Linked DNA regions of Homo sapiens: all the other regions are linked to region 3. Evidence: promoter capture Hi-C in human tissues and cell types (Jung and others, 2019). All regions are on one chromosome and are shown on one strand. The core of a region is centred on a gene start or on the middle of the fragment in contact, and the rest is flanking DNA. Distances in the headings are between cores, read along the strand shown. Region 1 has its middle 27 kb from the start of MIR298. Region 2 has its middle 7.9 kb from the start of ANKRD60. Region 3 holds the start of APCDD1L (APC down-regulated 1 like).

Evidence for each region. Contacts are between HindIII fragments. The study calls those that stand out against the background at their distance.
Region 1: a fragment that was not itself captured here is called in contact with the fragment with the promoter of APCDD1L in region 3 in 3 of the 25 tissues and cell types used here (IMR-90 fibroblasts, mesenchymal stem cells and mesendoderm cells).
Region 2: a fragment that was not itself captured here is called in contact with the fragment with the promoter of APCDD1L in region 3 in 2 of the 25 tissues and cell types used here (H1 embryonic stem cells and thymus).

Annotation. Positions count from the first base shown.
Region 1 is chr20:58,843,074-58,846,711 of GRCh38, reverse strand. It overlaps GNAS-AS1 and a transcript of GNAS not described here. Among named protein-coding and RNA genes, the nearest start is that of MIR298, 27 kb to the right of the region's middle. The HindIII fragment of the contact is 4,082 bases long and covers 1-3,638 here.
Region 2 is chr20:58,234,757-58,238,321 of GRCh38, reverse strand. It overlaps the pseudogene PPP4R1L. Among named protein-coding and RNA genes, the nearest start is that of ANKRD60, 7.9 kb to the right of the region's middle. RefSeq lists a silencer at 1,148-1,197. The HindIII fragment of the contact is 3,619 bases long and covers 112-3,565 here.
Region 3 is chr20:58,513,371-58,517,006 of GRCh38, reverse strand. APCDD1L (APC down-regulated 1 like) reads left to right here and starts at 1,608. Exons shown (of 4, transcript NM_153360.3): 1 at 1,608-2,348. The coding sequence starts at 2,300. APCDD1L-DT (APCDD1L divergent transcript) reads right to left here and starts at 1,628. Exons shown (of 7, transcript NR_034147.1): 1 at 1,267-1,628. RefSeq lists an enhancer at 2,007-3,005. The HindIII fragment of the contact is 21,415 bases long and covers 1-3,636 here.

The DNA of each region.
Region 1 (3,638 bases), core at 456-2,955, 330 kb before region 3:
TCAGAAACCAGCTCTCACATGGGGTTGAGGGGAGAAGAAACGTGGTCTTCTGCTGGCTGCCGGTCTTTGGCCTGTGCCCCTTGGACCCCTCAAGTTTGAGAGTGGGGACCTTGAAGACCAACCTTGCTGTGAACCAAAACCCAAAGCTTTAGCCTTGGAGCTAGACAGCTAGATTTCTAGGTGTTAAATCTTTCTCTTTGAGTGTAGCAATTGAAGTACTTGTATGAAAACTCCACACCTATGAAATTGGAATTTTTGGACCAGGTCTGTACGAAACTCTCAGGGGGACAGTGATGTTAATGGTGTCGAATCTGTGAGCCTCATTGGTAGCCCTCCAATGCCATATTTGGCTTTTAAAAATGCCCTTCCTAATGTTGAGCTGAAGTCTGTCCCTTGATGCACCTGGTTCTAACCCCCTTAGCCACCAGATACTTGAAGCTGCCCTCAACCTTTCTCTCTTCAAGACTCTCTTTATTCCTTCAAACGACTTTCTTTATAACCGCCAAATTTCCTGGCTTTGTGACCCCCTTCCCCATTTCTAAATCTTCTTTTCTGCTCCTTCCCAGGGGTTCTCTTATCTACCCACATCTTCCTTTTTTTCTGTGATCCCTCAAATTCTTCTTTTCCTTTTGTCTTCCTTAAATCTCTCCCCACTTTACTGTCACCACTTACCCTCTGTCCCTGCTGCCTGGGTTTATGTTGGCCTTTCTCATAGCCATGTGCCCTGCTAATTTGTAACATACTTACCCTAAAATAAACACAAAAAATAAACACACAGGCTATGCCCAGTGGGAGCTGGGAAGGCAGCCTCCCCATTTCTACCCGGGAATAGTTGCAGGCAGAGTCCTGCCTCTGCTGGCTGAGCACTGTCAACAGGTAATGGTGGCCCCGCATTGCAGGCTCTTGGCCTTGGGAGAACTAAGTCACTAGGCTGTTTATTCTGGCTTCTCTGCCCTGTGAATTAATGGCCACTAGTGCTTGGACCAGCATAGCTATTGGAGGCGTTTGAAAAAACTCATGAGATTTTTAAACAAGGGAAAGAAAACAAATACCAGTAAAAAATTTATGCCCCCCACCCCCCACATATGGCCTTTTGATATGTAAGAAAGAAATTATAAAACAAAAATGGGTGCTACATCACTTAATTTGACAGAACCAGATTTTTTTGTTTTTGAAATGCTTGCTTTGTTTATCCCATGCATGTATGATGGAGGCAAAACTGGTTTTGGGGGATGCGGTGCGCAAACAAGTCTTAGCTGTGACAAGGTCCTGCAGTGCATAAACAGACAGTGGGGTCTAGCTGTATGTCCATGGTATTAAAATGTCATGGGGAGGGGCAAGTAAGAAGCATATGTCTGAAGAAGCGAAGAGGGGAGTGATCATGAAAAAAACAAAGGTTGAGAAAACTGGTTTATCTCAAATAGCTGTAGCTTCTATACCATTTTTTTCAGGTCTAGCTTAACCAAAACACTTAAAACTGTTACCAAAAAACTTTCAACAGCACTTGTGGTCACTCAACCAATGTTCCCATCAGTCTGCCGTCCCCCACAGTGGTTAGCCTCTCCAAGCTGCAGTACTAGGTCAGTACTTGCAACCTTGCTGCCTGCTCCTGCTCTGAAAAGCTTGTTCTTAGACACCAAGGTCAGGGACAGAAGGTGGGGAACACACACACACACGTAAAACACACACTAAATACGACTCTCAGGATGGCTAAGTGTTTCCAGTTTAGGGAAAGGACACAGTGGAATTCTGCATTCTCTAAACTGCCTTTTGAGACCATTTTGCAACCAACTGTAAAGCAGATTTGACAAAATTTACATGAAGCCAACACAAAACAGATTTCTTCCTAGCTGGTGCTTTTTTTGTTTTTCGGGGTTTTTTGTTGTTGTTGTTGTTTTGTTTTGTTTTTTTTTTGAGATGGAGTCTCACACTGTAGGCCGGGCTGGAGTGCAATGGCGCGATACCTAGCTGGTGCTTTTTATTTGAGCAACTTTCGATGTTTTTTGGGAGTTCCATTAGGGTTAAATCACTAGTGTAGAGTCAAATTGGACAACCCCAGGCTTCTTAAGCTAATCAATCTAGACATTTGGAGCTGAAAGGGATAAATAGGATCATCTCATTCAGCGATCTCATTTTAGAAGAAACTGAGGCAGAGGGGTGTTGGGTCTGACCTAAGGCCACTTGACCATGGCTAGAAGCAACCTGGGCTGCTAGCCCTGGGCCTTTCGTCTTAGATCCCACTGCTCCAGTTTGGGACATCAAGTTATAGGAAATAGAGTCATTAGTGTCAAAACCCCACAACAGAACAAGAAATTCCATCTCTCATTCTTGAACATGGGGATTAAAGATGTCATTTGAGCATCTCATCCCTCTGCTGGGTGATTTTTTAGAGAAGAGCAGCAGTTGAGCCAGCACATGACATCACTGGCCTGGAAGCTTAATTTTATTTTAGTGATTTGGTTTTTGTGATAGGTCACCTTCCAGGTAAGCAGTTAGGAGACATGCTTTACTCACACCATGGTTTCTGCTCAGTTTCCTCTCAAAAGCTTCCCTCTTCTTGAAGAGCAGTATAATAATAACTGATAATTGAGGTAAATCCATGTAGATTATTAAAAAACCAAAAAACCTCATTCTTACCAACACTGAAGTTTCAGCTTTCTTCCTCCTTAACCTTCCACACAGCTGCAGAAAATGAAGGCTGAAGAGTTAAAGGCTGTAAGCAACTCCAGGGTGAGAAAGGCTTGCAGTGCATTAAAGAAACATCTCAAAACAATCCCAAACTGTAACATTTCTAATTCTTGAATTCTGATGAACATAAAAGAGTTTTGTTTGCAAAACTTTAAACCTACATCAGGTTGACCCCACACAATATTGGAACATTGCAACATAAATTCCCAGCTCAGATAAGTTCAGTTACAAGAGCACCTTTGGGTCGCCCTCCCCTCCCCCACAAAAGCAAATTTCCATTAAGCAAATGATTAATGTACTAAAGGAAACAACTTCAATATTGGGGGCATATCATCATGTTTAGCTAGCTTTATTCTCCTGCTCCTCCTCCTCCCTCACCCTCCATTTGAAATATTAAAAGTGGCTGGTAATTCACCTATGTGGTTCACCATAAGATCTGCTTTTTCTTGGGAGCCTATCCTCACCCCGCAGACCTCACCTATGTAAAAGGGGCAAGTGGGCCTATTCAGATGCTAACCCCAGTTGAGCAGGGTGGGGCAAAGGGCCAGCTGGGAGACTAGTGAGTTGGGAATGCTTGGGGAAGTTGCTAAAAATGGCTCTGGAAAAGGAAGGAGCTGAGTACCAGTCTCTCAGGCAGAGAGAAGGTTTGCGAAGTCTATATAGCAAAATCCTGTCTTCTCAGGGAGGGCCATAGGTGCTTTCCTCGGGGGTTGGTATAGCTCTCAGTTGCTTCATATGGTCTGCACTGGCTTTTCCACCCTTGAATCAGGGTGTAAAGAGGGAAGCTGGGGGAGGGGAATTGAGCGGGGGAGGAGAATTGAGCGGGGGAGGGGAATTGAGCGGGGGAGAGTGTGTGCCGGTAGGTAACAGGTTTTTACAATTGGGCTGTAATGCAGATGGCGAGGCAGTTTGTGGAAGACTGTCTGAAAGACAGTGTGTGTTCCTAGATT
Region 2 (3,565 bases), core at 672-3,171, 280 kb after region 3:
TAAAAAATAGTTGCTTCATGAAGACAAGAGGAGAGACTATCTTTATCAGCTTCAAGAATTTGTAGTGACTGATAACAGCAGGAATTGGAGGTTTCGATATGAACTAGCAGAGTAAGTAAAAACATATTTGGGGATATGAGAAAGCAAACTAGATGGAATAAATCTTAATTTTCTTACCATATAATTGATTTCTAAAGCAGCAGCAATAGTGTTCTTTTAGATAAAGAGATTATGTTTTTATTAAGGTATAAACAGAATTCCAAAAACCCTGAGTTACAAATACCACAGTCTCCGGGGAGACATTCATTTTCAGATGAAGACAGGGCTTGAGTCACTTTCGAATTAGAGTGTTCTGCTGTTCTAGAAGGCAATTTATTTGAACCAAATAAAAGATGAATCACCCACTCTTCAGTGTTTTCCTATTAATCGGAGCAGTTTTTACCAGAGCTTTCCTGAACATTCTGAGTGTGGTCCTCTCCGTAGGGTACAGCATGCTTAATGCCCTTTAGCTACTGTGGGAGACAGGAAGGGGTCTAACCCAGATGAGATGATTATGAAACAAAAAGGTTCCCCAAGGTGGCTCCTATCTGCACATCATTTTGTGCCTGAAGGAGTTATTTAATTCTGTCTTGAGCTGGCAAAAGGAATGTTCCAGGCTTTAGTGATGATGAAAGGGTGGAAGCATCAGTTTAAATAACTCCCCTTCCTAAGGTATATAATGTGCCTTTCACGGTGTGGAGGGAATTTGTTTGTGGCAGTTGTTGTTTGGGTTTTAGTTTTTACCTTGTTTTCATTTCGGTGTCTTTAGTTTTCATTTTTCTCATCCACAACTAGAAATCTCTCAAATAATTGTCTTCCCTGAATAAATTCATCAGGCTTTTGCAGCTATTCAGGATATGATTTGGCTGATGCCAGGGGCAAACCGAAAGCCTTTCTCTTTGCTGTGGTCTTTAATCATTCTGCTTAATTTGAGAGATTGAGGTTTCAGTCATTTTACCATGTTCCCAGCATCCTGTTCTGAGTCGAGAAAAACAGGCCCACGTTTTCCATGAAAGCAGTGCGACCTCTAGCGGCGGCGCACGGGAAGTAGGCGCGCTCGGTGCCCGGCGGGGCTTCCCCGGGTGGTTGCGCGGCCCCAGTGCCCGACCACGTTATCTAGCCCCCTACGCGCCCTATCTCCCATCTCCCGGCTTATTGAAGCCACAGCGACTGATATGAATTCTGTGCTCCGGTGCCCATGATATTGGTATCATGTTTTTGAAAACGGTGCTTTTTGATATGAAAGTATTCACCAGCACTCCGGGCTTCTGGTTCTAACTTCCTCCCCATCTCTTTTTCATTTCCTTTCGTTGCCTGGGTGAAAGCAATGTCATTTATTTTCATGCCCTTCTCCCCATCCCCATTTAGAAAGTAGTGAAAGCTTTGGTAGTGGGTTTTCGCAGCCAGCCGTCTCCTGCATGCTTTTGTCTTTCGGAGTAAGGAGCACGCGCTCCCAGTTCTCTCCAAGCGGACCTCGCTGCAGTGAAACCACCTCGTGCTGCCAAGAGCCGCGAGCAGGAGCATCCGGTTCGGTTTGCAGTCGGAGAAACGCCGGGGCGGTCGTGCAATCTCAGAGTGTTCGCTTGATCTGTTGACCTTTGTGAACTTCAACATTCTGGCTATTTTTATGTTATCTGATTTTTAAAGTTTTATGTGCTTTTCAACTGATAACCTAAAATTGAAATATTAAATCTGTATTCATAAATTTCTCAGCCTCTATTTTACAGAGTTTATTTCCTTTTTGTTTGATTTGTATGTGTGTGAGATGAAGAATTAAAATTTTGTTCACATTTTTTTTGCATGGTCATTTTGCTCAGCTTTCTGCTGTTGGCATTTTACTGAAGACCGAAATCTTGCTGGGTCTTTTGCTGTTCATTTCCCAGCCTGGCTATTTTTATCTGTAAGATGAAATAACAGTAAAAAGAAATCAATAATTTTGTTTTTTTGCCCAAAAATAATGTTTTTTTTGTTGTTGTTTTTGTTGTTGTTGTTTTCCTTTTAATTTCAGACAGCTGATACTGATTCTGGAACTCTATAGTCCCAATGATGTTTATGATTACCTAATGCACATTGCCTTAAAGTTGTGTGCAGATCAAGTTTCTGAAGTTCGGTGGATCTCCTTCAAACTAGTAAGGAATCAGGGCATTTGCTCTGTGATTTTTACAAATAGGAATGTTGATGTATCTTCCATTTTAACTCTTTTAATTTTTCTGGGCTTACTTTGTCAGCTAACCTATGAAACTAGCTTTTAAAATTTGAAATTAGGAACTATATTATAGTTTTATCAATTTGTAGGATAGCTTTTTTTGTTATATGTTTCAGTGACGGCAATTGTGGAGTAATCCTTTTATATATGAAACTCTTTAAGCCATAGGTTAGTGTTTTTAAAATACAGGTTGATTTACAGCTTGGTTTTGTAGAAAAATATTTAGTGAGCAAAGACTCTGCTGTAGAAAAGCTGATCCTATTTTTTTATGTGGGCTTTACACCAGCTGAATACTGATGAAAAAAAATCACATTTGACAATATTGATTTTAAGATACTCTGATGGTATTAAAATTTTATAAAAATGACATGTTCTGAAAGGTAATGATTTAGTTATTAAGCAAGGGGACATGCTCTAAAATTTGGAACCTTAAGATTAAGAATGTATTTTTCTAATGTCAGTCTCCTTTGAAGTTTCATTTTTATGAAGGGTTTTATGTGTGTGTGTGTATTGCCTATATTTAAACATCTTTTTTCTCTGTGTTCTAATGATGACCGTGACAAAAATTACTTTCTCCTGCGCCTATAAATTCATTTTAAAGGTGGAAGGATGCATAAAAATGTCTAGTTTCCGTGTAGAGTAGTATTCGTAATTCAAATAGATGGCAGCATTTTAAATGTGCTCTTTTGATGTTTTTCACAGGTCGTGGCAATTCTGCAGAAGTTCTATTCCAACAGTGAAAGTGCATTGGGGTTAAATTTCATCAATGAGCTCATCATAAGGTTCCGGCACTGTTCTAAGTGGGTTGGAAGGCAAGCTTTCGCTTTCATTTGTCAGGTTAGCAAGACCCCGGGAGGGATCTACCCTGGGTAACATCTGCCACGTGATGAAATCAAGTTCACCAGACAGAGAATCTCAGCCTGGAGCACTAGCCAGGAACTGAGGAATTAGTTCACCTAGCCCTGTTATCTCACAGGACATTGGGACCAACCCAGTGTGGTGAAGGGACTTGCCCAGGGTTACCCCACTGGCATACTCATTTGCCACATAGCTATTGATTGAGTACCTACGATGGTCCAGACAGATTCTAGATGCTAAAGACAAAGTGAACAAGCCTCTGCTCTCCCACATTTCCATCCAGTAAGATAAGGGCCAGGCCCACAGTCCACTCCTTTCCTATACAGGTCTGTGTCCACCACTACACCTCACCTTAGCCAGTGGCTTTGGAAGGAAGGCAGGATGAAGAATTGGGCAGTGGGTTAGGGCAGAGACTTTAACCTCTTTAGAGTAAATGTGTAGAGTTCGTATCATCCTGTCCAG
Region 3 (3,636 bases), core at 359-2,858:
CTCAGCTCACTGCAACCTCCGCCTCCCAGGTTCAAGTGATTCTCCTGCCTCAGCCTCTGGAGTAGCTAGGATTACTGACGCCCGCCACCACGCCCAGCTAATTTTTGTATTTTTAGTAGAGCCGGGGTTTCACCATGTTGGCCAGGCTGCTCTTAAACTCCTGACCTCAGGTGACCCACCCGTCTGGCTCTCCCAAAGAGCTGGGATTACAGGTGTGTGCCACGGCACCCGGCCTTAGCATGTAGTTTTTAAACTACCCATAATTGTAAATTTTGTACATTGAAAGACCCATAATTGCCACAAATAATCACAATTATGCAAGTATAAATAATCACCCTGCACAACTCTCCTCTTGCCCACAAAGTTATCCCTTTCATGAGAATTTAATATGTGACAATGGCCATTGTCTGCCAGGGAAAGCTCATACCGATTTCAGTTTCAGCAAGGCCACCTCGAGTCTCATAGAAACCAGAAAAAAAAAATGTCATTTTCAGGAAGCAAATTGATCGTTTTCCTCACATTTCCATTTGCGTTAAGATCATGGTGTGGCCTTGCTCTGGACTTTTTCCTATTCCCTGTTGCCTCTGGAGAGGAGGAAAGCTAAGGATGGCTGGTGGGCCCACATCGGGGGTCCCTGGGTGGATTGAAGGGCTCTTGTGGCTCCTGGAAGCCTCGCCCAAGTTTCTGGTAAGAAATCAAAAGGTGAGGTGGTGTCCCCTGTTCCCCTGTGGGATGATCAGCCCACAAAAGTGGGACAAATGAGTCTATAAAATGCTTCAGAGGGGCAGGTGGACTGCTCACTCGTGAGTCCCGGGAAACAGGCCTGGCCCAGTTCTCCAAACCTTTCCCCAGGGAGACCGCATCTCTGTCTTCTCTCTTCTTCTCTCTTCTCTCTTGTTCTCTCTTCTCTCTCTTCTCTCTTCTCTCTCCCCCTCCCTCCTCCTTCCTGGTTCTCTTTTTTCTGTTGATTTCACTCCCTCCTTTCTTTTCCCTTTCTCTTTCCTCCCCTTTCTCTCTCTTTCTCTGCCTGTTTCCCCTTTCCTCACTTTCATTTCTCTTTCTGTCTCTTTCTTTCTCTCCCTCTCTCAGGTCTCTCTTCTCTGTCTCTCTTCATCCTCAGTTTTCCCCTCTCTCCCCTCTTACTTTCTTTCCCTTTTTCCTTTTTCTTTCCATCTTCTTCCTCTCCCTCTCTGGGTTCGTGGCAACACAAGGAAACCCGCACATCCCCAGCCCGCAGCCTCGCCCCCTCGGTCCCACTGCAGTTACCCGGTGATCCATGCAGGTGGGAACAATCCAGTTAACTTTTCCCATCCGAGTGATTCTCTTTCTCTTCTTCATTCATAAATGCCATAACTCTCCCGGTCCTCCTTTCCAAGGCTCGTGCACTTGATTTCAAGGCTTGCCTGCCACCCAGGGTGCCACCAGAGTCCCAGTGCCTGGGTTGGGGGCTGGAGCGCACCCTTTGGGATCCCCCAGCCTGTCCTCCGCCTCACGGCTGCCTCGCTTCTGAGCTGCCACCCTCAGCTGACTCACTCAGATGAGATTTGGGAGGGAGGGGGGCAGGAGGAGGAGTTGCGAGAAGGAGGAAAACCCGCCTGGTCGGGTCCACACTTTGCCTAGATGCGTTTGGGTGTGGTGGGGAGCGGGTGACGGCCTCATTTACAGACAGAGGCCGGGGCTGGCTTCTAGGCGACCGGGTTGGCCACTTTCACTGCGCTTCTGGGTTTGCTGGGATCCAAGTTGACGCGACTTTTCCAGGAGTAGCTGGAAGACCTGAATAGAAACTTCAGGGGTCCCAGGACTGGCGGGGCTTAGAGGAACTCCCCGCCCCGCTTGCCCTTCCAGGGAACGGCCTGGCTAGGGGTGCGCTTTGACGCAAGGAGCGCATCGCTCTGCCTTGGCCGGGACCAGAGCTTGGGGGAGGCCTCCTTGCCCACTGCGAAGACTTTGGGGAAGGCGACGGCCAGGGGACGGACATCTGGGGGAGGGCTGGGGGTCTGAATGGCAGGAGCTGCACCAGGGGGCTGTGCGCGCTGCGCGGGTGTGCGCGCCTCGCCGGGGGCTGTCTCCACCTCTTCTGGCAAGTTGGACCTATGAGTGCGCAGCTCCGCTTACAACTATCAACAGCCGGGAAGGCTGAGCGCGTGTGAGCGCCGAGGGGGGCGCAGGACCCTCGCAACTTCTTCGCAGGACTCCAGCCTGGCCGCCGGCGCCCGCAGCCGTCCGAGAGCCCTGCGCCCGCGCCTCCCCTTGCGCACCGTGGCAGCGCCCGGCGGGCGGTCCTGCCAGCCCCGACGGGATGCCCGCAGCCATGCTCCCCTACGCTTGCGTCCTGGTGCTTTTGGGAGGTAGGTGCCACCCTCCCCCACCCGGCAAACTGGCTGAGCTCGGAAGGGAGGGAGCTCGCCGTCTAATGTCCCCTAAGGGCCCTTGGGGACTACGGCCCTGGGTCGGCCCACGCGGCTGCTATGCTGCGCCCTGCGCGCCTTTCTCCAGTCTCACCTGGCCGGCACCTGCGCGCCTCCAGGAGCTTCCTGGGGCCTGCGGGAGGGAGTCGCGTCACCTCGCAATATGAGAGCCGCTGCACTCTCTGCGCCAGTCGGGGCCTGGCCTGTAGGTACCCAGAGCTGCCCTTTGTGCCGGGCCCAGTGGGACCGGGGCCTCCAAGAAGATGCAGGAGGATCCCAGGCCCACTGAGACCCCCATGGTGCGGGACAAGCCCGGCTATTCAGACCAAGGTTACTGGGGTTGTTTTTGCCCACGGAATCCTGACCTGTGCGGGGTCGGGGCTTCTTCCTGCAGCAGGACTCGGGGAGAAGCTAGGGAGCGCGCAGTGACCCCAGGCTCGAGTTGTGCCCAGCAGGCCTGACAAAGGGGACCAAGGGGCTTCAGGAACCCCTGGTAGAGTAGTCAATGCCTTCTCCAGGACTAAGGGGTTCCCTGGTGGCTCTTCGTGGGGGTGGGGAGTAGGGTAGACAAAACTGTACAAAGGCCAGCTGACTGGAGTGTGCCATCACAGGGGCCCAGTCACCACTGACAAAAATGACAGTAACCACAGTTGAAGTGTGCCCAGCTGGGGGCTCATCCCCAAGCACCCTCACATTATGAATGGCTGAGAATTCTGGCCCTGGAGTTAGACCACCTGGCTGGGAAGCCCAGATCAACATCATATCAACCCGTCTGGCTTTGGGTAAGCATGGCCATCGGCTCTCTCAGCCTTGACTTTCTTTCCTGTCAAATGGGCTCACAAAATCCCCTCCTCCGTCTGGGATGATTGTGAAGATTACGAGAGCACGTGCAGGAGGATCACTCCACTTGCTGCCTGGCACTGAGCTCATGTTCAGGGAATGGCAGCCGAGAACCCCGGGGTGAAGAGGGGCTGCGCGGTCCCACAGAGCACGCTCTGCTCCATGTATAGGCAAGGAGCAAAGTCTAAGTCACCTCGAGGAGCTCTTCAATCACAGTCTTTTCTTCCCAGCCCCCAAATTTCTAAACAAGCTGTTTTGAGAAGAACTGGCAGGGGTCTGAAGGAGGGTCAGGGGAGGGTGCCTCCGCAGTTTGAAGAGTTGCAGATTCACCTGTCGAAAGGGACATTCATCCAGGGGCCGCTTCCCCTGCCAGTCTGGGAGCGAGAGG